Regions from separate parts of the Homo sapiens genome. Here regions 2, 3, 4, 5 and 6 are each linked to region 1. Evidence: promoter capture Hi-C in 16 types of primary human blood cells and fetal thymus (Javierre and others, 2016). All regions are on one chromosome and are shown on one strand. Each heading gives the region's core, a stretch centred on a gene start or on the middle of the fragment in contact. The rest is flanking DNA. Distances are from core to core; before and after follow the strand shown. Region 1 holds the start of HPS5 (HPS5 biogenesis of lysosomal organelles complex 2 subunit 2). Region 2 overlaps UEVLD (UEV and lactate/malate dehyrogenase domains). Region 3 overlaps SAAL1 (serum amyloid A like 1). Region 4 has its middle 10 kb from the start of SAAL1. Region 5 overlaps TSG101 (tumor susceptibility 101). Region 6 holds the start of LDHAL6A (lactate dehydrogenase A like 6A).

Region 1 (4,453 bases), core at 670-3,169:
TTTACTCTCCCTGAAATGACTGCTTCCCTTCCAGATTTTCTTATCCAAACATACCCAGCTTTCAAGATCGCACATGAGCCCTACTTCCTAGAATTCTCAAGATGGAAAAAGATTCATAGGTAATTCAGTGAACATGTCCACCTAATTCAGAAATTAGTTTTGCCCTAGATCCCTGAACATTTTCAGCCATGGAAAGAAAGCACTCACTCTCATGAAGCTGCCAATTCCAGTCCTCCAAAGGGCTCACTATTATAAGGTTCTTTTTAATACTATGCTGAAGCCTGATCACTTAGAGCTCTACCATTATTCCTAATTGTATGTAGCTTCTACAGCTGAAGGGAACAAGCTGTCTCTTTCCAAAACAATCCTTCTGTATTTGAAAAGCATTATCAGGTCTTCTAAAAATTTAACATTCCCAGTTTCTTCATCACTCCTGACATGACATTTTCCAACCCTCTGTTCCAGTCAACCTTCTACAGAGGCACTGTAGTTTGCCTAAAAATGAGGTGCCTAGAACTGAGCATAATACTCCTTAAGTAGTTAGATGAGCCCAGAATAGAGTAGAAACACTAACTTCCTGGATCTAGACACTAAGTTTCTATATTACAACCTAAAAACAGTATTAGTTGTGTTTAAGTGGCCATGTTACACATTGATTCAACAGAGCAAGTGGTCAACTAAAACCCAAAGAAATTGTTTACATAAATAAAATCTTCTTAGCCAGTAGCTACATACAGTAGAACTGAGCTCAAATTGAAAGCTGCTATTAATCAAATGCAACAATGGATATAAAAAGTACCTAGAAATGTACAAACAGTATAAAGAGGAACAGCAGAATGCTGATAATTGTTCAAGTTGCGTTAAGTGTACATGAGGGTTCAATTTATTATCCTACTTTTGTCTGCGTTTGAAATTTTCCACAATAAAATTTAAAAAATATATACATAATATTGTACAAGCCTTCAACAGCTCTATTTCTTGAAAATCTGTTATCTCCTCCCTGCTTCTTTTTCCAGCCTTATTTCCCATCTTAACCTCTCTATTCTCCAACTACATTGGACTCGACTCTTTTTTTCTTTTTCATTCCATAAACTTGCTGTGCCTCCATGGTTTAATATATGATGTTTATGGAATCTTCCCCCATTTACCAAAACCCTACCTTTCTGCAAAGCTGAGTTTAAATGTTACTTCTGTGAAGGCACTCTACCAAAAACTAAGAACATAGAAGTTGGCGACAAATGCTTAACCAAAGTAAATGAAACAACTTTTGGGAGACTGGCTTGCCCAAGGATCACAGAGTTCATAAATGGTAGAGCTGAGATTAGAATACGCGTCTCCTGAATCCAAATCTCATCTTTCCATTATCGTAAAATAGTTCAGTGTTTGTTGCTCACACATCAAATGCAAACATGTTTCTCTTTTGCCCCAGTAGGTGCGTGGAGGAAGAGGAGAAAGAAGTAAGAAAGATAGCAAAAATTGAAGAAATGAGAAGGGGAAGTTGCAGACTGCCTCATTTTCACAATGGGATCTTTCTATCCAAGAAGAAATGATCAGAAAACAACTCTCTGCCTCAGACAAATGGCGACTGACTCATTTATACATTCATTCATTCAACATTCTGAGTGCCTACTATGTTCCAGGACCTGAACACACCGCTAGAGACACAGGGATGAACAAAACACAATCCCTACCCACAAAAAGCTCCTTGCCTAGTGGAACTACTACCTTTTTAACAGCAGTAACTTTAATATCTTGAGATTTCTTGAGAGGAGACCCAGTAACCAATTTTCAAAGCCAGGCTCACAGACCAGCAGCCCGGAGGTCCCAGCCCAGCTCCACCACATCCAGGGCAGTACCTCGCAGCTCTCAGTAGATCGGATCTTGTCTCCCGGCTTAGCGCCGGGGAACTCACCGCGCACTAAGAGCGGAACGTGAACTTCAGTCTCCCCTCGCGTTCCTCCCCTTCCTTGCTGACGTCATCCAGGAGAGCCGCAGACTGGAAACAACGCTACTAACGGCACTTCCTCATCACGTGACGAGTCACGCCCCTCCTTCCGCGTGGTCCCTCCCCCTCAGGCCGCGGTCGCGATTACGCTCTCTACGGCCTGCGACCGCAGGGCCGTTGCGGGCTGGAGACACGGCGCCGACTGGAACCGGAGGAGCTCTAGGCCAAATGGTTGGGCCAGCCAGGATCCCAGGACCCTTCGCCGCTCGAGACCGGAGAGAGGAAACGAAACAGGCGGGAACCCGTGGGGGAGGGAGGGAACTAGCGGAAGGTGTCATGGCGGCCGCGCTCTTGAGTCACGTGCCCAGGGCCCGCCTTGCTACTTCCGGTCACGTGCCCTCAGACTCCTCGCAGCCAGCGATGGAGGCGAGACCCCCTAGTAACAGAGGCGGTGGCTACTGCTGCGGCCACTGGGTTTCGGCCTCTTCCCAGCAGCGGCTCTAAGAAGCGCAGCGGAACTCGACCGGATCCAACCCAGTTAGTTACTTCCTGTCTAGAGTTGTAGCTTCCACCTGGTAAGTTTAGACCGAAGAATGCAGGCGGGCGGGTGGGTGGGCGGGTGAGGAGCTGACAGGCCTGGGGGCCGCTGGACGGCGTGGATTCTACCCCTGTTCCCAGCGTCGCTGTCGCCGTCCTCCCAACGCCCAAGCCTGGCGTCTTGTTTGCCCTTATCCCGAGGCGAGGAAGAGGCGACCCCTAATCTACTTGTCTAAAGGAAACCTGCTCTTAAATTGAGAGCAGGTTTACCCAAAGCCAGGATCAGATTTGGCTTATGAGAATGAAGTGGAGGCCTCTCCCAGACAGAGAAGCCCTTCCCGTCAGGAAATGTGCTGTTGAGTCTGGGATTCTGTAAGAGAAAAGCTGTCACCTTGTTGTCTGCACACCTTTTGCTTCCACCTGTCAATCTTACCTCTCTTAAAAACCTTAACACGTGCCAGTCCACACACTCCTAGTTTTGGTCATTTGATTGTCGTGTAATGATGAAAAATAGACCATGAGTACCTGGATATATGTAATTATTTTGTAAATCCCCCAGTGTTCTCAAAGGCCAAATTAAATAAGGAGGTGACTTTTCTTATTTTTTTTTAAGAGACAGAGTCTTGTTCTGTCGTCCTGGCTGGAATGCAGTGGCGTGATAATAGCTCACTGTAACCTCGAATTCCTGGGCTCAAGCGATTCTCCTGCCTAGACCTCCCAAAGCGCCAGAATTATGCTACAGTGCCTGGCCCCAAATGACTCCTAAACTCCAATTTTAGCATCAGTAAAATGGGGATGGGGAAAGAAGATATGAAAAATACACCCTTTGTCCATTTGAAGACCCAGTCTTAAAAACAAAAACAAAAAAAAAACTGAGTGGTTTGAATGAAATGTGCTTTGCAGTGAGTATTGACTCCATACAAACCAATATCCAGACTTGTGATTTTCAAACATTTTAAAGGAGTGGAACAATTTCTCCCCATGAATTTTTATCTGGAACCCAATATATAAAGCAGCATGCTCTGGTGGAACTAAATTTAAAAGGGCCAGGCCCCACCACCCCACTTAACTTCTATCCTAGAGGCCACTCCTTGGAACACAGTTTGAAAACCACTGAACTGGACTTAGGTAATTAAGCCAAAGTTGCCAACCTTAAGATTTTTTAAAAGACAAAACCAGAGCAGTTGAGATGGAGAGGTCACAACCGCAGGGAAGGTAACCTCTAGTAGCAGGCCTTGGACTTAGAGAAGGACTAAACTCTGGAGAGAACTTTGTACCTGTTAGCAGGCTTAAGTCCCTCATTCAGAAAGGAGAAAAAAGAGATGGTCTGCTATCCTCACTCAGCCGACATTTTTTTTTTTTTTTGAGACGGAGTTTTGCTCTTGTTGCCCAGGCTGGAGTGCAATGGCGCGATCTCTGCTCACTGCAACCTCCATCTACCGGGTTCAAGGGCTTCTCCTGCCTCAGCCTCCCCAGCGGCTGGGATCACAGGCGCACGCCACCATGCCTGGCTAATTTTTGTATTTTTGGTAGAGACGGGGTTTCACCATGTTGACCAGGCCATTCAGCCGACTTGTAGCAGTGCAACAGATTGGTAAGTTTGAGTCTCTCTTAGGTGATATAAAATACACATTGCAGTACAAATGTGAAAAAAAATCAAAGCAAATTCAGAGAGGGCTTTTGAAAAATACTAGGAAACTTGGTGCAGTGTGGGAGAAGAATCAGTTAAAAGTAGTGAAGCCAGCGACCAGCACCAGTCCTGGGTTGTGAATGCTTCCTGTGTGTACTGCCCTCAAGGCTTGTAACTTCTCCCTGCTGGTACCATGTGTCCTGCCCTCTGATAACCTGCTTCTCTGTGCTATTTTATTCCCTACCATCAGAATGTTGTCTGGCATACCTTGAGCTTTCCTAGCATTTTGGCCACCATTTATCTCTGCCTTATGCATACTGCTGATAGAGATGTCTTTGTGC
Region 2 (4,453 bases), core at 1,444-3,943, 240 kb after region 1:
TGCAATGGTACAATCTCGGCTCACTGCAACCTCTGCCTCCTGGGTTCAAGTGATTTTCCTGCCTCAGCCTCCCAAATAGCTGGGATTACAGGCATGCACCACCATGCCCACCTAATTTTGTATTTTTAGTAGAGACGGGGTATCACCATGTTGGCCAGGCTCATCACAAACTCCTGACCTCAGGTGATGTGCTCACCTTGGTCTCCCAAAGTGCTGGAATTACAGGTGTGAGCCACCGTGCCCAGGTCTGCAGGTTTCTTTTTCTTTTCTTTTCTTTTCTTTTTTTTTCTGAGAAGGAGTCTTGCTCTGTCGCCCAGGCTGGGGTGCATTAGCACGAGCTCAGCTCACTGCAACCTCCACCTCCCAGGTTCAAGCGATTCTCCTGTCTCAGCCTGCCAAGTGGCTGGGATTACAGGCGTGCACCACCTCACCTGGCTATTTTTTATATTTTTGGTAGAGATGGGGTTTCACCATGTTGGCTAGGCTGGTCTCGAACTCCTGACCTCAAGTGATCTGCCTGCCTCGTCCTCTCAAAGTGCTGGGATTACAGGCATGAGCCACTATGCCTGGCCCCTGCAGGTTTCTTTTAATGGGATGAGTTAATAAAGATGACTTGGTGCACTCAATACTTCTGCTATTGCTCTTGATTTATGTTTTCATTTTGATGTTATCATTTTCATTCTGAAAGTGCTTTTGGGTCTATTTGTGTGTCTTATTTCTAGTAGAAAAGTTAAAAAAATAATGCCAGCTTTTTCTTAAAAAAAGTATAATAGCTATAAAATCTAAAATCAAATCCTATTATCATGCAGTACTCTCCCCAGAGATCTCATGGAAAATACTCCACATGCCTGTAAATAGGGCGGCACAGTGGGCTGACTGTAAATAACAGCATGGAAACTCCTAAAAATCAGTTTACCTTTATGGAAGGTCTTTCTTCAAAGTAGTAGGAGACTTGAAGATATCTCCTATTTTAGGATTCACGGGCAAAAGTACCCAAAGATCTACCAGACTATCAGACAGAAAGTGTGATGGTAAAGAAAACAACCCTGGCTGGGCACGGTGGTTCACACCTGTAATCCCAGCAGTTTGGAAGGACAGGATGGGCATAGGCTGGAGTCCAGGAGTTTCAGACCAGCCTGGGCAACATGGCAAAACCCCGTCTCTACACACACACACACACACACACACACACACACACACACACACACACACAGAGAGAGAAAGAAAATAACCCTGCTACACTATGTATTAGCTATGTAACACCAGGACAGTCACTGAATTCGGCCTTACTTTATGAGGTTGTAAGGATTAATTATGTGACACAGGGCTTGCATATAGTAATCCCCTCTAAAACATAGTTATTAATTTTATTGCTAACCATACCCATAAGGAAAATGCAAAGAAAACTATGAGTTACCATTTTCATTTATAAGGCACAAAAAAATCCAAAAGTTTAGCAGTAGTTGTAGGAAAATAAGTATTCTTACATATTATGGGTATGGGAATAAACTGGTATAATTAATAAAAGATAATTTGACAATTTTCTATCAAAAATTTAAAACATTAACTTCTTGAATCCATCAATTCATTTATAGAAATCATCCTACAAATTTATCAGTACATGTGTAAAAGAGTACAATATTAAGGATATTCATAAGACTAGGAACAACAAAACGTTCATCAGTAACAACGAGACAATATAGTGGTTTATAGCAGAGATTGAAAAAGTTTTAAAATGTCACCATGTAATCAATCCGTGAAGCATATATTATCACCAGGGATTTTATTAAAATGCAGATTTTGGCCGGGCATGGTGGCTCAGCCCTGTAATCTGAGCACTTTGGGAAACCAAGGCAGGTTGGTTGCCTGAGTTCAGGAGTTTGAGAGCCCCGTAGCCAACATGGTGAAACCCTGTCTCTCCCAAAAATACAAAAATTAGCCGGGCCTGGTGGCGCATGCTTGTAGTCCCAGCTACTCGGGAGGCTGAGGCAGGAGAATCTCTTGAAGCCGGGAGGTGGAGGTTGCAGTGAGTGGAGATTGCGCCATTGCACTCCAGCCTGGGACAGAGCGGGACTCCATCTCAAAAAAAAAAAAATGCTGATTTTGTTTCAGTAGGTCTGGGAAGGGTCCTGGATTATGCATTGCTAGCAAGAACTCAGGTGGTACCAATGCTGCTAGTTTGAAAGCCACACTTTGTTTAGTAAGGATCTAGAATACAGGCTCTGATAAACAGATTACCTGGTCTTTAAATTCTCGCTTCATCATTTATTAACAGTGTAATTTGGGGCAACTTGGGTAACCGCCCTATGCCTTTGTTTCTTCATTTGTAAAATGTCAGTAATAACAGTACCTAAACAAAGGGTTGTTGTAAAAATGAGTCAAGTGGGCCAGGCACGGTGGCTCATGCCTGTAATCCCAGCACTTTGGGAGGCTGAGGCTGGTGCATCACCTGAGGTCAGGAGTGAGTTCCAGACCAGCCTACCAACACAGTGAAATCCCATGTCAACTGAAAGTACAAAAATTAACCAGGCATGGTGGCACGTACCTGTAATCCCAGCTACTTGGGAGGCTGAGGTGGGAGAATCGCTTGAACCCGGGAGGCAGAGGTTGTGGTGAGTCAAGGTCACACTACTGGCCAGGCACGGTGGCTCACGCCTGTAATCCCAACACTTTGGGAGGCCGAGGCGGGCAGATTGCCTGAGGTCAGGAGCTCAAGACCAGCCTGGCCAACATGGTGAAACCCCGTCTCTACTAAAAATACAAAAATTACCCAGGTGTGGTGACGGGTGCCTGTAATCTTAGGCTAAGGAAGGAGAATCACTTGAACCCAGGAGGCAGGAGGTTGCAGTGAGCTGAGATCACGCCACTGCAATCCAGCCTGGGGAACAGGGCGAGACTTCGTCTCAAAAAAAAAAAAAAAAAAGTTTGCGCCACTGCACTCCAGCCTGGGTGACTGAGCGAGACTCCATCTCAAGAAAAAAAAAAGAGTCAAGTGTTTAGACAAGTGCCTGGTACCTAATAAGCATTGTGTAAAGGTTAGTTGCTGCTGCTACCACCACTACTTTTGTTGCCACTATTATGAGTACTATCACTGTTGCAGTCATAATAGTGGCCTATGAATATTGTACTTTGTATCAAAATATTAACGTCTAAAAAGAAAAACAGAATTTTTTTTTGAGACAGGGTCTCACTGTGTCGCCCAGGCTAGAGTGCAACTGCACAATCGCAGCTCACTGCAGCCTCAACCTCCCAGGCTCAAGCAATCCTCAGCCACCCAAGTTGCTGGGACTACCAGTGTGCACCACCACACCTAGCTAATTTTTAATTTTTGTAGGGTGGAGGCAGTGGCTGACACCTGTAATCCCAGCACTTTGGGAGGCTGAGGCAGGCAGATCACCTGATGTCAAGAGCTCGAGACCAGCCTGGCCAACATAGCGAAACCCCCTCTCTACTAAAAATACAAAAATTAGCTGGGTGTAGTGGCACACGCCTGTAATCCCAGCTACTCGGGAGGCTGAGGTAGGAGAATCACTTGAACCCGGGAGATGGAGGTTGCAGTGAGCTGAGATCATGCTACTGCACTCCAGCCTGGGAGACACAGCGAGACTCCATCTCCAAAGAAAAAAAAAAAAATTTTTTTTGTAGAAATGGGGATCTCGCTGTGTCGCCCAGGCTGGTCTCAAACTCCTGGGCTCAACTGATTCTCCTGCCTTGGCCTCCCAAAGTGCTGGGAGTACAGGTGTAAGCCACCGGGCCCAGCTGAAAAACGGCAAATTTTCCACCCAGACAATTCACAGACAAATAATGACAGTGAGATTCTTCTAACAGTTTAAAAACATGGCCAGGAGCAGTGACTCATGCCTGTAATCCCAGCACTTTGGGAGGCCAAGGCAGGAAGATAGTCTGAACCAGGAGTTCAAGACCAATCTAGGCAACACAGGGAGACCTATCTCTACAAAAAAACTAAAAATTACCTAGGTGTAGTGGCACACCCCTGTGGTCCCAGCTACTCAGGAGGCTGAGGTGGGAAGATCTCTTAAGCCCAGGAGATAGAGACCGCAGTAAGCCATGATCATACCAGTGCATGCCAACTTGGGCTACAGAGAGAAACCTGGTCTCAAAAACAAAAATGAAAAACCATGACTTTCAGACTTTCAGATGCCTTCTTGTGCTTACCAAAAAAAAAAAAAGACAAATAATTACAAATAAATAAAACTTAGTACTGTTAGGGATGTCAAAAATCAGGTTGATGTGCATGTTATTAGCAGCATAAATTAGTTCTGCCTTTCCAAAGAGCAATCTGGCACTATGTCATAAGTGCTATAAAAACCATTCATGCCCTCTGACTCACTAGTACTATTTTTTAAAATTATGTACAACCAGGCCGGGTGCAGTGGGGCATGCTTGTACTCCCAGCACTTTGGGAGGCTGAGGCAGGAAGATTGCTTGAGCC
Region 3 (4,453 bases), core at 708-3,207, 220 kb before region 1:
CCAAGAGCTTAAAACACGGTAGGGGAAAGAAGTCAAGAACTGCTATTGGGTCCTGTCCAAAACCAGAATTTGTGTTTTCAAAATCATCAATAGAATAAAAATTCTGATCACAATGTAACTGTGGCAGCCTCATAACTTCTTCCTACAGAGTCTGCCACAGTGCCTAAAGGGGCGTAACACACAGGTGACATGTGAGTGGACATGTGGCCCCAAATGAGCCAAATCTCACCTAGGAATGTAAGACACAAAAGCTAAGTCAGTTTGCTTGGGGACCTGCAATGTAAAATATATAAATAAAATTAAGTCTCTGGCTGTCCACTGCTTCAGATTTTCACTAAATGTGAGGTGTGTATTTGAGAAGCCTTAACTTAAAATATAAGCTGCATGGCTTATGTGAAAATTAAGGGCCCTGGAACATCTCAAAGAGACAGGCAATTATTCTCCACAGCAAGTGAAACCAGTAACCTGCCAGACAACTGACTGAGAGAGACACACTCTACTTACTAAAGGACCATGGTCAGAGAAAATAGTATTTTCAAAGATACACTCTAAACTGAAAGTCATAATGGCAGATTCTCTTCACTGTAAGTGATCAAGCTGTCCTGTGGGCAATTCTTTGCCACATGCAGAAATTTTTAAATTTAATGGTAATTCCTGGAGTAGCACAAGGGTGGCCTAACAATATCAACACCAACAGTAATAAAATTAACATTCATTGAACAAGTATTAAATGCCAGGCACAGTGAAGTGGCTTGCATGCTATCTCATTTAATTCTCAAAACAACTCTATCAACTAGTTATCATTGTTAGCCCCATTACACTCATAAGCAAACTGAAGTTTAAAAAGTGTAGCAACCTGCCCAAGATTATACAGTCTCAGCAGAGCAAAGCTAGGATTTGAACCCATGAGTCTGATTTGAGCCTATGGTCTTGTTTTTTAAAAGAGATGGGGGTCTTGCTATCCTGTCCATACTGGAGCAGTGGCTATTCACAGATTCACAGGCATTATCATAGCTCACTGCAGCCTCCAACTACTGGGCTCAAGTGATCCTCCTGCCTCAGCCTCCCAAATAGCTGGGAATACAGGCAAGTACCCAGCGAGACTATGTTCTTAACCAGCACAACATGCTACCTCTCAGGTATTCATCTATTCATTCATTACTCCCCAAATATTTTCTGAAAAACCTAATAGGCACTGTTTTAGGTTCTGGGGATACATCAGTGAACAAGCTAAATAAGGGCTCAGTCCCATGGAATTTTCATTCTAAAGAAATGAACAAACAATAAATATAAAACAACTAAACTACACAATTTCTAAATGCTACAAAGAAAATAAGATATGTGCTAGAAACCAAGATAAAGCGGGCTACTTTAGACATGACATTGAAAAGAAGGCATTTCAGAAGGGGTGACATTATGCTTTGATGAGAAGGAATTTAAATCCATCAGAGGACACATGTAACAGAGTGAAGCAATTCTGTGGGAACACCAAAACAAGACAGGTTAATTCTGACTGGAGTGTCTGGGGTGGCATCACAGAGGAGGTGACATTGAAGCCGGGCCATAAACAATGAGAAGGATTTTGCCAGCTGGAAGCCATTCTAAGCAGAGCGGCATGAATAGTGCCCATGGACACGTGAAAGTGCAGGAAGTATCTGGAGGTCTCTGGTCCTCGCACACTGAATTCATGGTTACAGAACGATAGGCGACAAGACTGAGATATAAACTCACCAGACTTTGCGCCAGGGACCTCAATTGTCAGTGGAGAGCTCAGTTCTGAGTGGTGCCTCAAGGGCACCTCTTGTAAGGGAGCAAAAGGAGGCCAAAGAACATGACTTTGCCCTGCACCAATAACCTCCTTCAAACAGTAGCGCTGTTTTCTCAATTTTAAAACTGAGACTTTCACCCTAAGAGTTCATTTAAAACACAGGTTTTATTTCTTTTTAAAAAAATTTGTTTAACCATAATTTATCAATAATTGTAGAATAGAAAGTAGATCTGAACAATACTCTCAACCAACCTGATCTGACATTGAGAATAAGATATTCCACCCAGCAACAGCAGAACACACATGCTTTTTAAGTCAACATGGTAAATATTTCAGGTTTACTTAAAACCATATTCTGGGCTATAAAACAAATCTCAACACATTTAAAAGGATTCAGTGTTCACCAACCACAGCAAGAGAAAGATAACTGAAACATTCCCAAATATTTGAAACTTACCTATAAACCAAAGAAAAAGTAAAGAATATTAGAAAGTATTCTGAACTTCTGCGGGCATGGTGGCTCACGCCTGTAATCCCAGCACTTTGGGAGGCCGGGGCAGGGGGATCACTTGAGGCCAGGAGTTCAAGACCAGCCTGGCCAACATGGCAAAACCCCATCTCTACAAAAAATACAGAGCGAGACTCTGTCTCAAAAAAAATTGTAAACACAGCATATCAGAAATTGTGGAATACTGGTAAAGCATAAATATTTAGGGAAAATTCTATAGTGCTTGATGTCTATCTTTAAAAAGAAAAGATTTCAAACTATAAAGTATGTGGACAACTGATTTTTGACAAAGACACAAAAGCAATTAGTGGAGAAAGGATCGTCTTTTCAACAAATGAACTTGAACAATTAAATATCCATAAGCAAAAAAATAAACTTCATCCATCCTTGCACCATATACTATACAAAAATCAACTCAAAATGGATCACAGACTTATATGTAAAACCTAAAATTATAAAACTTTTAGAAGAAAATGTAAGAAAACAACACAATTAAAAAGCAGGCAGAAGATTCAAACAGGTACTTCACCAAAAAAGATACACAGAGTACAAATAAACACATGAAAAGATGCTCATCATTAGGAATTAAGGAAGTCCAAATTATAATCACAATGAGCTATCATTACATACTTATTAGCATGGCTAAAATTAAGAAGACTGACCATACTAAGTGTTGGTGAGGTTGAGGAGAAATTGGACCTGGAATTATGTCTCATACACTGCTTGTGGTTATGTAAAATGGTAAAAAACTGCTTAGGAAAACAAATTGAAAGTTTCTTAAAAAGTTAAGCATACACCTACCGTATGATCCAGCCATGCCACTTGATATATGGTCTGGCTCTGTGTCCCCTCCTAAATCTGACCTTGAATTGCAATCCCCATAATCCCCACGTATCAAGGGCAAGACTAGGTGGAGGTAAGTGAATCACGGGGGTGGTTTCCCCCATGCTGTTCTCATGATAATGAGTGAGTCTCATGAGATCTGATAGTTTTATAAGCGTCTGGCATTTCCCCTGCTCGCACTTCTCCTTCCTGCCACCGTGTGAATAAGGTGCCTGCTTCCCCTTCCCCTTCTGCCATGATTGTAAGTCTCCTGAGGCCTCCCCAGCCATACTGAACTGAGAGTCAATTAAACCTCTTTCCTTCATAAATTACCCAGTCTCAGGTATTTCCTTATAGCAGTATGAGAATGGACTAACACACCACTCTAGGTATTCACCCAAGGAAAAACAAAGTATATGTCCATACACACTTGTATACAAAAGTTCACAACAGCTTTATCTGTAATAAGCCTTAAACAACTCCAACATTCATCAACAGGTAAAAAATAAATTGTGGTATATACATATAATGGAATACCATTCAGCAATAAAAAAAAAAAAAAAAGCCACTGATATACACAACATGGATGAATCTCAAAATAATTATGCTGTATAAAAGAGCCAGACCAAAAAAAGCATATGAGCACATTCATATAAAACTCTAGAATACATACTAATCTGTAGTGACAGAAAGCAGATCAGTGGTTGCCTGGAGGGGATGGAGGAATGGAGAGGCAAGAGGAAGAGACTACCAAGGACCATAAAGAAACTTTCAGGGGTGATGGGTATGCGCTGTATCCTGATTACAGTGACAGCTTAATCTGCGTACACATCCGTCAAAGTTTATTGGCTGGGTGCGGTGACTCACTCCTATAATCCCAGCACTTTGGGAGGCCGAGGAGGATGGATCATTTGAGGTCAGCAGTTCAAGACCAGCCTCGCCAACAGGGTAAAACCCTGTCTCCACTAAAAATATAAAAATTCGCAGGGATTGGTGGCTCACACCTGTACTCCCAGCTACTCTGGACGCTATGGCAGGAGAATCACTTGAGCCCTCGAGGCGGAGATTGCAGTGAGCTGAGATCGCACCACTGTACTCCAGCCTAGGTGATAGAGACTCCATCTCAAAAAAAAAAAAAAAATCAATGTCAATGATACTTCAAAACAATATGCAGTTTTTTGGTGTTAATTATACCTCAATAAAGTTTTAAATAAAATGACTGAAACAATGAATAGCCATTGACAATTTTTAAGAAAATGAGTACAATTAAGTCTGTATTTCCGGAAAAAAAGGTAACACGGGTGGCAATGTAGAGGACAGAAGGGAGGTGAAAGAGACTAAAACAAGGATTTTAA
Region 4 (4,453 bases), core at 1,150-3,649, 210 kb before region 1:
TTAATAAGTACTTCCAAAATTCCTGGCACATTTTATCACTTTCAGCAGCAAAACAAGAGGTAGTGGTTCTCAACCTTTGCTGTGCATAAAAATCTACCGAGGTGCTTAGCAAAGGCAAGATTTCTAGGCTCTGTCCCAAGAGACTGTGGCTGCTGGGGGCAGGGGGTAGGGTATGGACCCGGGAATCTTCATTTCATTTCACAAAGCATCCCAGAATCCAGGTGATTCTCACGCAAGTGGTCCCAGAACAACCCTTTGAAAAATATTAACCTAAGGAATGAAAGATATTTGTAGTTGAGTGTGTGAACATGTAAATAGGATTAAAAGCAAATCCTTAAAACCATTTTTCAGAGACTCAGAAAAATAATAATACCTGAAATTTAAAATACTGCATTCTGAAAACAAAATTTTGCCACTTTATTATGGCTAGTGGGGTATATTTCTCCCTCTCTCTCTCTCTCTGTCTCTCTAGATGGAGTCTTGCTCTGTCTCCTAGGCTGGAGTGCAGTGGTGTGATCACAGCTCACTGCAACCTCTGCCTCCTGAGTTCAAGCAATTCTTCTCCCTCAGCCTCCCGAGAGGCTGGGATTATAGGCGCATGCCACCACACCCGGCTAATTTCTGTATTTTTAGTAGAGACAGGATTTCGCCATGTTGGCCAGGCTGGTCTCGAACTCTTGACCTCAGGTGATCTGCCCACCTCAGCCTCCCAAAGTGCTGGGATTACAGGTGTGAGCCACTGTGCCCAGCCCTCGGGGTATATTTCTCTTGCTAGCAGTTTCCTGGCCATATATAAGCCCCAGTAGAACCACCATCAAGGTAATTCACTGTAGGTTTTACTGGGATAAGTGGAGCTAGACTTACCTTCCAAAGGCACCACATCCTATTTGCCATTTCTTAGATAAAGGATGAGCTATGTGTTCACAAATCCGAAACTCTTGTTTTGAAAGCAGCAGAGTACCTTGATTAAGAGCAAGTTCTGCAGAGCAAGACTGCCTGGGTTAATCCTGCTCTGCTTTGGAACTTCTTTACGTATCTTGGGGTTTGTGTGTGTGTGTGTGTGTGTGTGTGTGTTAGTGTGTGTGTGTGTGTGTGTGTGTTAGCTTCTCTGTTAAGGGATAATGCTGCTTGCATCATAGGACTAAATGATGGAAACCAATTCATTAGTACATTTAAACAGTGCCTAGTACGTATTAAAATCTCAGCTAAGCTTGGTTGTTTTTATGGGGACGGTTGGCTCCGTTCAGCTTCCCCATGGACTCGCCTCACACTTTTGATCCACCTGCTTCCTGGCTTCCCAGGAGACATAGACATGAACTGTCCCAGATTTCCCACTAGGGGGCAGTAGAGCCCCACCGGTATTATGGGAACATGCACCCCTCAACTCCACATCTCTCTCATGGTCCTGCTGAAAAGAGGCAGCTCACACCTTATGCGACCTCGGCTGGAGGATCCTCATAGAAGAGTGTCAAAGCTGTCCAGAAAAGCATGAGGAACCACGCTTATGAAAAACCATGCCCCTTCTCTATCCATCTGTGGCATCACTAGCACCTTTGCCCAGTGGGGATGTGGCCTCTGCTCAGCTGCATCCTGGGGGCAGCCAGAAGCAGCCTCCTGCCCCCTATCCTGTGGACCTCACCTTGGCCAGCTGCCTTGAGGAATGTTAACCATCCTTGGCTGCTGACACCCAGGACCAGGGAGCAGAAAATGATGCCAGTGGAGAGCTTCATCCTGCTGCAGGGCCAAGGAAACACAACCAAGGATAATACACATTCTGTTTCAAGTTTTTATTTTTTGTAATGTTAGTCCATTCTTTCATTCCAAGAAAAAAACCCACTCGGTTTTACACACGCACACACACACACACACACACACACACAGGTGTATGTGTATAGATAAAAGATAGAAGGTCAGAGGGTCTACGTCTCCATTTCCATTTGTCTCATTGGAATCCCAGTATCTGACAGAAGAGGAGCAGTGACCCAGGATAAAGCAAATAGACAAAAGTCACACCATGTTTGAGAATCATTATTTTAGATTAGAGCCTGCCAAAATTAGGAATTATGCCTCTTTCTGGGTTCTGAGCATATTTTAGGCACAGTAAAATGAAAGTTATAAGGCAGATAGCTGTCAGAGGATTTCCCTGTCCCTTTGGTTCTTATCTAAGGCAATGCTAAGCAACATTTGAATATTCCCTACACAACTTCCATTCCTTGGAAAAGGTGGGATTCCCTGTGGTCAGTGTAGTATCTGAGCTGGCGTGGCTCACTTGGTCCCAGGAGTAGACAGTAGAAGAGGGGGAAGAGGAGGGGAGTTGTCAACCATCCACAGCCACTGGTCATGGTGTACTTGGAGGAGCTGCTTCATAAAGCAGGGCATGTGATGTCCAGACCTCCTTTTTCCTACTCTTCTTCAGGCAGAAATTGAGGGCCAATGATCACATCCTGTCACAATTATTTTACTCCCTTTGGAACCATTCAATGCTGGAAATCTACTTTCTCGTTTTATTCAAGTCATTCTCTTCTTTGATAGAAGTTGATATGGTTTGGATCTGTGTCCCCACCCAAATTTCATGTTCAATTGTAATTCCCAATGTTGGGAGTGGAGCCTAGAGGGCGGTGATTGAATCAGGAAGGCTGTTTCTCATGAAAGGTTTAACAGCATCCCCCTTGGTACTGTCGTCGTGATAGTGAGTGAATTCTTTTGAGATCTGGTTATTTAAAAGTGTGCAGTACCTCCCCCCTCACTCTCTTTTGTCCTTGCTCCCACCATATGAGATGCCTCACTCCCGCTCTGCCTTTGCCATATTGAAAGTTTCCTGAGGCTTCCCCAGAAGCAGAAGCCACTATGCTTCCTGTACAGACTAAAGAACCATGAACCAATATAACCTCTTTTCTTTATAAAGTACCCAGTTTCAGTCATTTCTTTATGGCAGTATGAGAACGGACTAATACAGAAGTATTAGAAAGCAAGTGGCGTGGAGACACTGGCTCATGCTTATAATACCAGCACTTTGGGAGGCTGAGGCAGAAGGATCACTCGAGGCCAGGAACTCAAGACCAACCTGGGAAACATAGCAAGACCCCATCTCCACTATATATCTGTATATATATTTTTTAAATTAGCGGGGTGTGGTAGTATGCACCTGTGGTCCCAGCTACTCAGGAGGCTGAGGCAGGAGGACTGCTTGAGCCCAGGAGTTGGAGGCTATGGTGAGCCATAATCACACCACTGCACTCTAGCCTGGGTGACAAAGTGACACACTGACTCACAGGAAAAAGAGCAAGAAAGCGAGTATGATTTCTAGATACCAAGAGGAACTCCTCACAGGGACTTTGACAAGCCTTGCCTGTTTTCTTCCTTTGTTACTTAATGTATTCTGCCTTCCGGGAAGGTACACGCAGTTTCTTATGGTGCCAAGCTGAGAATAATAGACAATAACGGCAGTCAGTTCTTTTCACTTGTTTCTCCTGAAAAAGAAAGATTTCCTGTCATGATATCAGAGTCCCCAGGCCTTAAAGGGATTTTCCAACAGTCTCTTACAAGTGACTACGTGTGCTGGTTTGCATGAGATCAGTGTCTATTGTCCAAGCTTAATAGTGGCACATCTTTTCATTGTCTACAATGGCCTGGATTGAACAGTAAATCAGATGGTAGCACTACTCTGATAACCTTGTGTGACCAGGCTGATTGAGAGGCCCAAGACACCTCCATTCTTTTAAGTTACAATTAATTTAAGTAGAAGAGGAGAATACTAAGGCTTAATTCTATTAGGAATTAGAAAAACAAAAATCAGAAAAGCCCAAAAGTCCACAGGTATCATGACTAAGAATGACATCTCAGACCTAAGCCCCAGTCTTAGAAGACCAGCGGGAAGAACTTTATATTCCCTAAATATAAAATGAAGAAAATAATGATACAAAATCACTACCCTCAAAAAATTCACATTTAATGAATCCTAGTTACCAGAATAGTAGATATAGGAAGGATGCAGAAAAATACAACTCCCTTGTAGGGTTGTTGTGAGGATTAAATGATTAATGCTGACAGGGACTTGGGTTAATTCTGGGCACGTGTAAAGCATTTAATTAATTTTAGAGCTTCCACCTTAACCAAGAAAACGCATAATAATTTATATTTTCCAGGAGACAGAAATATTAATTACAATATTGTTACCAAGGCAACCTATTATTAAGACATTAGTAAGTAAGATTACCAATTAGAACTACAGTTATAAGGACCAAGGTTTATTTTCACATAGTGTCAGAGACGTTTGAACCAGAGCGACTCTATTTGGCATGAGGGCTAGGAAAATGAGGCTGAGATTGCTAGGCTGCGTGCTCAGAAAGTTAGGCATTCCTAACCTCTAGATGTTTACAGTTAAGGGAACAAATTCGTAATGTTTACTAAACAGACCCAGACTTGGGAGTGTGCAAATATCCCAATATTTGGA
Region 5 (4,453 bases), core at 663-3,162, 180 kb after region 1:
GCCACTGCATCTGGCTCACAAGCTTTTTAATTTAGTATCATCGCAGTAGTCTATTTTTGTTGACTATGCTTTTGAGATATTAACTATAAAATGGTTGCCTAGGCCAATGTCCCGAAGGGTTTCCCCTATGTATTCTTCTAGTAGTTTTATAGCTTTGGGTCTTACATTAAGTCTTTAATCCATCTCAAGTTGATTTTTGTATGTGGTACAAGATAGGGGTCCAGTTTTCATTCTTCTGCATATGGATACCCAGTTTTCCCACCACCATTTATGAACAATGTCTTTTTCCCAATATATGTTCTTGGCACCTTTGCTGAAAATCAGTTGGCTGTAAATATGTAGATTTATTTCTAGGTTCTTTATTCTGTTCCATTGGTCTGTTTCTGTTTTTATACCAATACCATGCTGTTTCGGTTACTATAACCTTGTAATATATTTTGAAGTCAGGTAGTATGATGCTTCCAGCTTTGTTCTTTTAGTTCAAGATCACTTTGGCTATTTGGCTTCTTTTTTGGTTCCATATACATTTTATGATAGCTTTTTCTATTTCTATGGAAACTGACATTGGTATTTCGACACAGACTGCACTGAATCTACAGACTGCTTTGGGTAATATAGTCATTTTTACAATATTAATTCTTCATGGGCATGAAATGTCTTTCCATTTGTTTGTCTCAATTGGACTCTTTAAGGCTTTTTTAGGGCATGGTTCTCTGTGCTGATGAGTCATCCAGTAGAGAACAAAACTTGAGAGGAAGGAACTGCTGAAGTGATGCCCCTGAGTACATTAGAGGGGATAAGGTCTAGTGGAGAAATCAGCTTTAGATAGAAGCAAAGATAACCAACTTATGGTAACAGGGAGAAGGCAGATATGGTGGTGCAGGTAGTGGGAGATAGGCATAGGTGAAGGCTGGAGTCTAAAGAAATTCTCTCACTGCCTTAGTTTTTTTAGTTGAAGAAAATTATATTTCAGGTAACGCTAATAAGCAAACACAAAAAGCAAAAACTACTGGTCTTCAATCATTTGTCTGATTTGACCTGCTCATATTAACCCATTTTACTTTCTTCTCTTAATGATGGTGATCTGTTTTCACATATAACCAAGCTAGGAAAATCTATGTATCTGCTAATAGTTCAACACATGTTTGGCTCACAAATAAAACTATGTGATCAAAAGAAAGATTGATGAGTTAATCAGATTTATTTTCATGCCCTGGTAGAAGGTTCATTTATATGTTAAGTCATTTACTTCAAGTTTAAGATTATAGTACATTATTATAGGTTTTCCTCTAAGAAGAAAGAGTAGTCCAAAATTCACAAGTGAAATGTGCTTTTCACAACAGGGAGTTAGACTTTGCTTATATGGTGAAACACAAGTTTTCAAGGGTACTTACCAACAGTGGTCACAGGAGGCTGAGAAGGGTACTGAGAACTTGTTGTGGCAGGATATGGACCACCAGGTGGGTAAGGACAGCCTGGGTAACCACTAAAGACAAGAACAAAAAACATTTAACATTTAAGATGACCCAACCTTATAGTATTTTGAAGAACCCCATTCAGGAAGTTAAGCTTGACATATGGTTGTTTTACCAGTTGATGAATTTATAGTCTTGGAGCTGCAAGTGTTTATTCAAGTAAAGCTCTATGGAAATTGTATTAATGACACTGCATTTACTCTTAAATGGCTAAATGCTCTTGCTTGGTCCCAGTTATATGAGAGTCACCCTCATAGCAGCGGAAATGTAACTAGAGTATTTCTAAGGACAATCCAACAGCATCAGAAGCAACAAGTAATTTGTGAGAGAACTTTTCCGATTTCTCAGTCTGTGGGAAAATGATACTATTTAATTTGTACCTGTGGCTTATTGGTAACCTTTGGGGATATTTAACCCGAAAACACTTGTCTTTAAATAGTTTTTTTCCTCTTTTGATAACATTCGTACCAAACTCATCTTTAGTTTAAAAAAAAACCTTTTTTCTCACTTTCTGGACAGTTTCTGTCATTCATGTATTCGTATCAAAGTCAGAGGAACTTTCCTTAGAGGTATTCTACTCCAATCACCTTTCCAACAATCTCTTATCTACACACATCATTTATAACATCCCTGACAAATGGTCATCTTTCTCTATTTAACATTAAACATCATTTCAATATAATTTATAAATAGGAGTCCTAAATTTGCATTTTGGAAGACACTCAACTATTTGGAGACTCCTAAAACTCGAATATTTGAGAACTTCTAACATTTTTCCCTCAAGCTTCTCTTCTTCAGGTTAAATTTTTTTTTTTTTTTTTTTTGAGACGGAGTCTCGCCCTGTTGCTCAGGCTGGAGTGCAGTGGTGTGATCTCAGCTCACTGCAAGCTCCACTTCCTGGGTTCACGCCATTCTCCTGCCACAGCCTCCTGAGTAGCTGGGACTATAGGTGCCCGCCACCACACCCGGCTAATTTTTTGTATTTTTAGTAGAGACGGGGTTTCACCATGTTAGCCAGGATGGTCTCAATCTCCTGACCTCGTGATTCACCCGCCTCAGCCTCCCAAACTGCTGGGATTACAGCTGTGAGCCACCGCACCCAGCCCTAACTATTCTTAATTCCTTTAACCATTTGTCTCAGGACATGATTTTCAGATCTAATTGCTTTCCTCTGAATGCTTACTAGTCAGTGTTTCCCTTACAACGAAGAAGAAAATTAGAATAGGATGATTACTGGCCACCTGGTTAGTTAGACAATAAATCTCAATTAATCCTATTTTAGCTATAATTATCAATTCTATGACATTTGCCTTTTACAAGCGCATTAAAATTACTGATTAAAAAGAGCTAGCCCAGGCTGGGTGCAGTGGATCACACCTGTAATCCTAGCACTTTGGGAGGCTGAGGCAGGTAGATCACTTGAGTCCAGGAGTTCAAGGCAAGCCTAGACAACATGGCGAAACCATTTCTACAAAAATAGAAAAATTAGCTAGGTGTAGGGGCACACACCTGTAGTCCCAGCTACTTGGGAGGCTGAAGTTGAAAGATCACCTGAGCCCAGGAGGTCAAGGCTACAGTAGCTGAGATTATGCCACTGCACTCCAGCCTGGGCAACAGAGTGAAGCCCCCATCTCAAAAAAAAAAAAAAAAAAAAAGCTAGCCTAGGACACTGGAGCAAGAGCTCCTTCTGAGTTTATCGTCAATAATCCTTTTTCAATGCAGTGGTTCAAAGATTCTCCTATTTGTATTATCAGCTTCCACTTTATAACTTGTCCTCAACTAAGTTTTATATATGACTTGCTGAAGATTCAATGTAATCATGGTACTTCTCTTATATATCAGTATAAAAGCAAAATCAGACAAAAAAAAAAGAAAGCATTTTTGTTCCTAGTGGACACATGCTGGAGGCTACTGAACACAGTACTTTTGTTTCTAGTCTCTTCAGTAATCCATGCTATAATGCTGTAAAGAAATGTCAATCCTACTGAAATTTCTAAATCCACCTTTCTGAAAACTGGGATAAACTGCTCTTTTTTTCTGGAGTTTCTCCCATTTTGCATACCTTTGCAAAGATAATGTGATCACATTGCTGAATTTTTTTGTAACTTGGTATAAAACTCTTCTAAGCCTACAGATATTAACTTCAGAGAAATCTCCATCTGTAGCTTTATTGTTCAGAAGTCCATTTCCATAGTGTACCTTCAACAATTATTCCCTCTATGTCCAAAGCTGCTTTTTACTAGCAATTGTTCAGTAGCCTTGTAATTTCAAGGCTTCAGGTAGGATTCCATTTCTAGAACTTAATCAGAAAATTTAGGGCCTCAAGAAATCTAAAATGAATAACCTGCTTATATATTACTACCAAAGGAATCTTTCTCTATTGTCCCTGACAAATGTTCTTCTAATCTCTGCTTACCTATCCAAAGTGACAGAATGCTTATTACCTTCTAAAAAGTTGTGAAATTAAGACAACCCAGAAATGAAGTGTTTGCTAAATTAACTTTCAAGATCCTAGATATTATATATGTACATATATATATTTACCTATGACATGTGTTCAGAAATCTGGCTGCATTTATCCATGAGGATTATGACTGGGTTATATGAAACTAAGAAGACTTAGTAGAGTTAAATTTTCCTTGCTAATTGTTAGAGCAGCTGGAAGTCTCATCTTGGCATCAGTATATGCCAATCTTTTTTTTTTTTTTGAGACAGGTTCTCACTCTGTTGGCCAGACTGGAGTACAGTGGTGCAATTACGGCTCATTGCATCCTCGATCTGTAGGCTCAAGTGATCCTTCCACCTCACCCTCCCAAGTAGCTGGGACTACAGGTTCACACCACCATGCCTGGCTAATTTTAATTTTTTTTGTAGAAATGAGGTCTACTATGTTGCCCAGGCTGGTCTCCAACTTCTGGGCTCAAGCAATCCCTACCTCGGCCTCCCAAAGTGCTGGGTGGGATTTTAAGTTAGCCCAT
Region 6 (4,453 bases), core at 1,127-3,626, 130 kb after region 1:
AATTGGTTCTGGGTATGGGGGAGGGAGGAAAAGGTAAAAAAAAACTTAGATATTACAAGAGTTTGGCTCTCCAGAGCTCAACCTTGCCTGACAAATAAACGTATATGTATATGTGTATGTGTGTGTATATATATATATATATATATATATATATATATATATATATAGGTTTTTTTTTTTTTTTTTTTTTTTTAAGAGATGGAGTCTTGCTCTGTCACCCAGGCTGCAGTGCGGTGGCGCAAGCTCCACTCACTGCAACCTCCACCTCCCAGGTTCAAGCAATTCTCCTGCCTCAGCCTCCTGAGTAGCTGGGACTACAGGTGCCTGCTACCACGCCCGGCTAATTCCTTTCCTTTTTTTTTTTTTTTTTTTGAGACGGAGTCTCGCTCTGTGGCCCAGGCTGGAGTGCAGTGGCACGATCTCGGCTCACTGCAAGCTCCGCCTCCCCGGTTCGCGCCATTCTCCTGCCTCAGCCTCCCGAGTAGCTGACGCCTGGCTAATTTCTTTTATATTAGTAGAGACGGGCTTTCACCGTTTTGCCCAGGCTGGTCTCGAACTCCTAAGATCAGGCAATCCGCCCGCCTCGGCCTCCCAAAGTGCTAGGGTTACAGCCGTGAGCCACCGCGCCCGGCCAACTCCTTAATATTTAATTTCATGATGGGGGTGCAAAACAATTAGGGGGAACATATCTACAAAGACTCTTGAGGGAGTGATAATGAAAAAAGATTGAGAAACACTGCTCTACATTTTATAAAAATTTGTCAATATGTATTACTGTATTAGGGTTCTCTAGAGGGACAGAACGAATAGGATAGCTATATATATAAAGGGGAGTTTATTGAGGAGTATTGACTCACACAATCACAAGGTGAGGTCCCACAACAATAGGCCGTCTGCAAGCTGAGAAGCAAGAAAGTCAGTCGGAGTTCCAAAGCTGAAGAACTAGGAGTCCAATGTTTGAGGGCAGGAAGCATCCAGCACAGGAGAAAGATGAAGGCTGGAAGACTTAGCCAGTCTAGTCCCTCCACGTTCCTCTGCCTGCTTTTATCCTAGACGTGCTGGCAGCTGACTAGATGGTGCTCACCCGGATAGAGGGTGGGTTTGCGTCTTCTAGCCTACTGACTCAAATGTTAATTTCCTGTGGCAACACCCTCACAGACACACCCAGGTTCAACACTTTGCATCCTTCAATCCAATCAAGTTGACACTCAGTATTAACCATCAAAATTACGTATTATGATTCACAAATGAGAAAACAATTAGGTAAAATGTGGTGGGAGAAGTAGAAACCTTGGTTTATTCCAGACTGATTTTCAATTCTACATTTTTGTTTTTTATTTTTGAGACGGAGTCTCACTCTGTCACCCAGGCTGGAGGGCAGTGGCATGATCTCGGCTCACCAAAACCTCCGCCTCCCGGGTTCAAACGATTCTCCTGCCCCAGCCTCCTGAGTAGCTGGGATTACAGGTGCGTGCCACCACACCCGGCTAATTTTTGTATTTTTAGTAGAGACGGGGTTTCGCCATGTTGGCCAGGCTGGTCTCGAACTCCTGACCTCAGCTAATCCACCCGCCTCGGCCTCCCAAAGTGTGGATTCTACATTTAACCACTTAATAATGAATTGAGCTTTCCCTTCATCTTGTAAAAATGGTTATCAATTGGCACTGCATTCATCAAATTCTTCAGGTTTCATATCTTATTTCCAAATTCCTTTTGCATACAGAGTTTTGTTGTTGTTTTGAGACAGGGTCTCACTCCGTCACCCAGGCTGGAGTGCAGTGGCACAATTTCGGCTTACTGCAACCTCCGCCTCCCAGGTTCACAAACAATTCTTGTGCTTCAGCCTCCCAGGTAGCTGGGATTACAGGGGTGCACCACCACGTCCAGCTAATTTTTGTATTTTTAGTAGAAACGTGGTTTCACGATGTTGGCCAGGCTGATTTCGAACCCCTGACCTCAGGTGATCCGCCCGCCTTGGCCTTCCAGAGTGCTGGGATTACAGGCGTGAGCCACCACGCTCGGCCCAGAGTTTTAAAATTTTACTTTTTCTACTTTAGCTCACATTTGAGGTGGTAAAAGTTAATCTTGAGGTCCCTTTCTCCTACAGGGCTGGGGGAAAATTTTCACGTGAGAGTCAAACAGTCCTTTTCAGATACATCCAGACAAGGTTTGGTTAGAAATAAAATTACTTGGGCTCTCTGGTGGATGGGTTCTAGGCAAACAACTCCGCCCAACAGCAGAGGCCCTGCACTGCGTTGTGCCTGCAGCACCTCGTGCGCCTTCTGCAGCCGGCCAACCACCTACACCGCAGCCCGCCCACCCGCACGCGGGGGCGGGGCGGGCAGGCAGAGGCGCAGGCGCGGTGCTTCGCAGCCCGCTTCCGGCCTCACACCTGCCAAGCATCACACCTGCCAAGCATCACACCTGCCAAGCATCACACCTGCCAAGCATCACACCTGCGATGCCTGCACGAGCTGGGTGCGGTCCGCGCAGCTGCAGTAAGGGGGCGACCCGGCGTCTGTTAGTCGGCGGTTCATCTCCTTCGTGCCTCGATGAGCTTTAACGCCATTTTCCTCCATTCTCTTTCTTCACCTCTTGAGTGAGTGGCCATGAGCTGGGCTGCAAGAGTCCTGGGGAGCAGCCAGAGAGCGGGCGCCGCGGGAGCGAATTGTTTTTGCCCAAGGATGGTTCTGTGTCTCCGCCAGGCGGCATGTGACCTGCTCGGGCGCGGGTGGCCCTTCACCCCTGTGAGTGTGGCCAGAAGTACCTCTCACCTGGACCTGCGGACCCCGGGCGCAGTCCTGGAGCTGAGAACTGGAGGTTGGGGGAACAGCAGGGTAAAGGGGAGAGAAAAGGGGGTCAGCTGCGGGACGGAGTGCCGTCCCAGCTGTAGTTTCATGTTTGGTGGAGCAACCCCTGTTCCTTTCCTCTCTCTCTCTCTTAATTCCTCTTAACTGTACTCACGCTTCCTTCTCCTTCCCCTGGTCCGCTTCATGGATGCTGAGCTGCCTGGCCAGAACCTACCCAGCTTCTTTGCTGGTCAGATTTGTCGGTCTTTTGTGTGTCTGCAGCACCTCCTTCCACACGGGCCCAGGAGTTCTCTATACGCGCTCTCACCGCAGGTCTTGGAATTCCAAGCCATTTCCAATTCCAGGTCTTGGAAATGGCTGTGCAATTTGTCTTCACTGTTAGGTTTCCAAGATGGCAACTATCAAGAGTGAACTTATTAAGAATTTCGCGGAAGAGGAGGCCATTCATCACAATAAGATCTCCATTGTAGGAACTGGATCGGTTGGTGTGGCTTGTGCTATCAGCATCTTATTAAAAGTAAGTTGTGTGCTCTGCACCACAGGGTTCACCTCAGTTGGAGGCGAGGCCACAGCGTATGGTTGTGGAGGTTGTGTCCAGTTCAAGGTGGTGAGTGGGGAGCCAGTGTGAGGGGCATCAGAGGAAAAGGTGCCCTTTTTTTAGTTGTTCACCCAGAGGGCGCTCCTTTTTAAAAATTGTATGATGATATCATGTGGGTTAGAAGCATCTCTGTGAAAGTATGTTGACATTTCACTTTCACGTAATGACAATATGAGGTACCCCTTTGCTTGATTTGGAAACTCAGCTCACAAAACAAACTGGAGAGAAATAGGTGGCAGAAAAGAGTATACAAGCGTGTCAGTGATGGTAGGCAGCCTACGAGTACCAAATACAATAATCTTTTTTCATTTAAATATCTCTCTCCCATTTCCTAGTCTGTATATCTTTATTTCCCTTCGTTCCTTATTCATGTTAGGTTAGTTTTAGTGTTTAGCTGTTCTTAGTATTGATACAGCTGATAAAGTTTTATGGCTATAGACAGAGGCCAAAAAAAGATTCTGACCCCTTTCTAAGAATATTACCCTGATATGAACTTTATTACCATAAAGTTTTAATAAATCATAAGACACTCTGAGCTATACTTTTATTAATGAAATATCTGTAAAATGTTTTAGCCATCTTTTATATAACCTTTAATCCTGGCATGAGTCATTGGATTTAAAGGATTGCCTCTGGGTTTCATATCTAGATGACATAGTGACCTTATGGCACTAAGGACAGCAGCCACAGCCAACTGCTGCTCCTGCCAGCCATACAAATTCCCCATGATTCATTTTGTCCTACCTATTGTAATGCCTTTATCAGCAGTGTCCTCACTGCTAATGAAGAATACACACACGTGAAAACCAACACATCTGTGACTCATTGATTGTTTGATGGGGCCTCCACGTATTGCCCAGGCTGCTCTCAAACTCCTGGCCTCAAGCAGGAGGTCTCGGCTTCCTAAAGTGCTGAGATAACAGATGTGAGCCACCTTGCTTTGCCCAACACATTTTTTTTAACATCAGTAATAATGATAACAGTATGTTTGTATGCATTATCCAATATTACAACCCTGGAAAGTAAATATTAGACCTACTTTTTA

What was found. Contacts are between HindIII fragments. The CHiCAGO score rates a contact against its expected background, and 5 or more counts as called.
Region 2: a fragment that was not itself captured here is called in contact with the fragment with the promoter of HPS5 in region 1 in 1 of 17 cell types (neutrophils); the score reaches 5.3 in neutrophils.
Region 3: a contact is called between a fragment that was not itself captured here and the fragment with the promoter of HPS5 in region 1, in 2 of 17 cell types (total B cells and naive B cells). The highest score is 6.5, in total B cells.
Region 4: a contact is called between a fragment that was not itself captured here and the fragment with the promoter of HPS5 in region 1, in 2 of 17 cell types (naive B cells and total B cells). The highest score is 8.9, in naive B cells.
Region 5: a fragment that was not itself captured here is called in contact with the fragment with the promoter of HPS5 in region 1 in 6 of 17 cell types (naive CD4 T cells, naive B cells, monocytes and 3 more); the score reaches 6.7 in naive CD4 T cells.
Region 6: a contact is called between the fragment with the promoter of LDHAL6A here and the fragment with the promoter of HPS5 in region 1, in 6 of 17 cell types (activated CD4 T cells, non-activated CD4 T cells, naive CD8 T cells and 3 more). The highest score is 9.4, in activated CD4 T cells.

What each region holds. Positions count from the first base shown.
Region 1 is chr11:18,320,221-18,324,673 of GRCh38, forward strand. HPS5 (HPS5 biogenesis of lysosomal organelles complex 2 subunit 2) reads right to left here and starts at 1,920. Exons shown (of 23, transcript NM_181507.2): 1 at 1,726-1,920. It overlaps GTF2H1 (general transcription factor IIH subunit 1), which reads left to right and starts at 2,347. Exons shown (of 15, transcript NM_005316.4): 1 at 2,347-2,520. RefSeq lists enhancers at 1,418-2,367, 1,505-2,704, 1,595-1,894, 1,905-2,324. The HindIII fragment of the contact is 9,902 bases long and covers 1-4,453 here.
Region 2 is chr11:18,558,927-18,563,379 of GRCh38, forward strand. The region is part of intron 6 of UEVLD (UEV and lactate/malate dehyrogenase domains); the gene reads right to left. Among named protein-coding and RNA genes, the nearest start is that of UEVLD, 28 kb to the right of the region's middle. The HindIII fragment of the contact is 5,555 bases long and covers 1-4,453 here.
Region 3 is chr11:18,098,175-18,102,627 of GRCh38, forward strand. All of the region lies in intron 2 of SAAL1 (serum amyloid A like 1), which reads right to left. Among named protein-coding and RNA genes, the nearest start is that of SAAL1, 5.7 kb to the right of the region's middle. The HindIII fragment of the contact is 8,611 bases long and covers 1-4,453 here.
Region 4 is chr11:18,114,347-18,118,799 of GRCh38, forward strand. It overlaps the pseudogene SAA3P. Among named protein-coding and RNA genes, the nearest start is that of SAAL1, 10 kb to the left of the region's middle. The HindIII fragment of the contact is 2,382 bases long and covers 1,209-3,590 here.
Region 5 is chr11:18,501,092-18,505,544 of GRCh38, forward strand. TSG101 (tumor susceptibility 101) reads right to left here. Exons shown (of 10, transcript NM_006292.4): 7 at 1,395-1,486. Among named protein-coding and RNA genes, the nearest start is that of TSG101, 24 kb to the right of the region's middle. The HindIII fragment of the contact is 690 bases long and covers 1,568-2,257 here.
Region 6 is chr11:18,453,480-18,457,932 of GRCh38, forward strand. It overlaps LDHAL6A (lactate dehydrogenase A like 6A), which reads left to right and starts at 2,377. Exons shown (of 7, transcript NM_144972.5): 1 at 2,377-3,327. The coding sequence starts at 3,202. The HindIII fragment of the contact is 8,824 bases long and covers 1-4,453 here.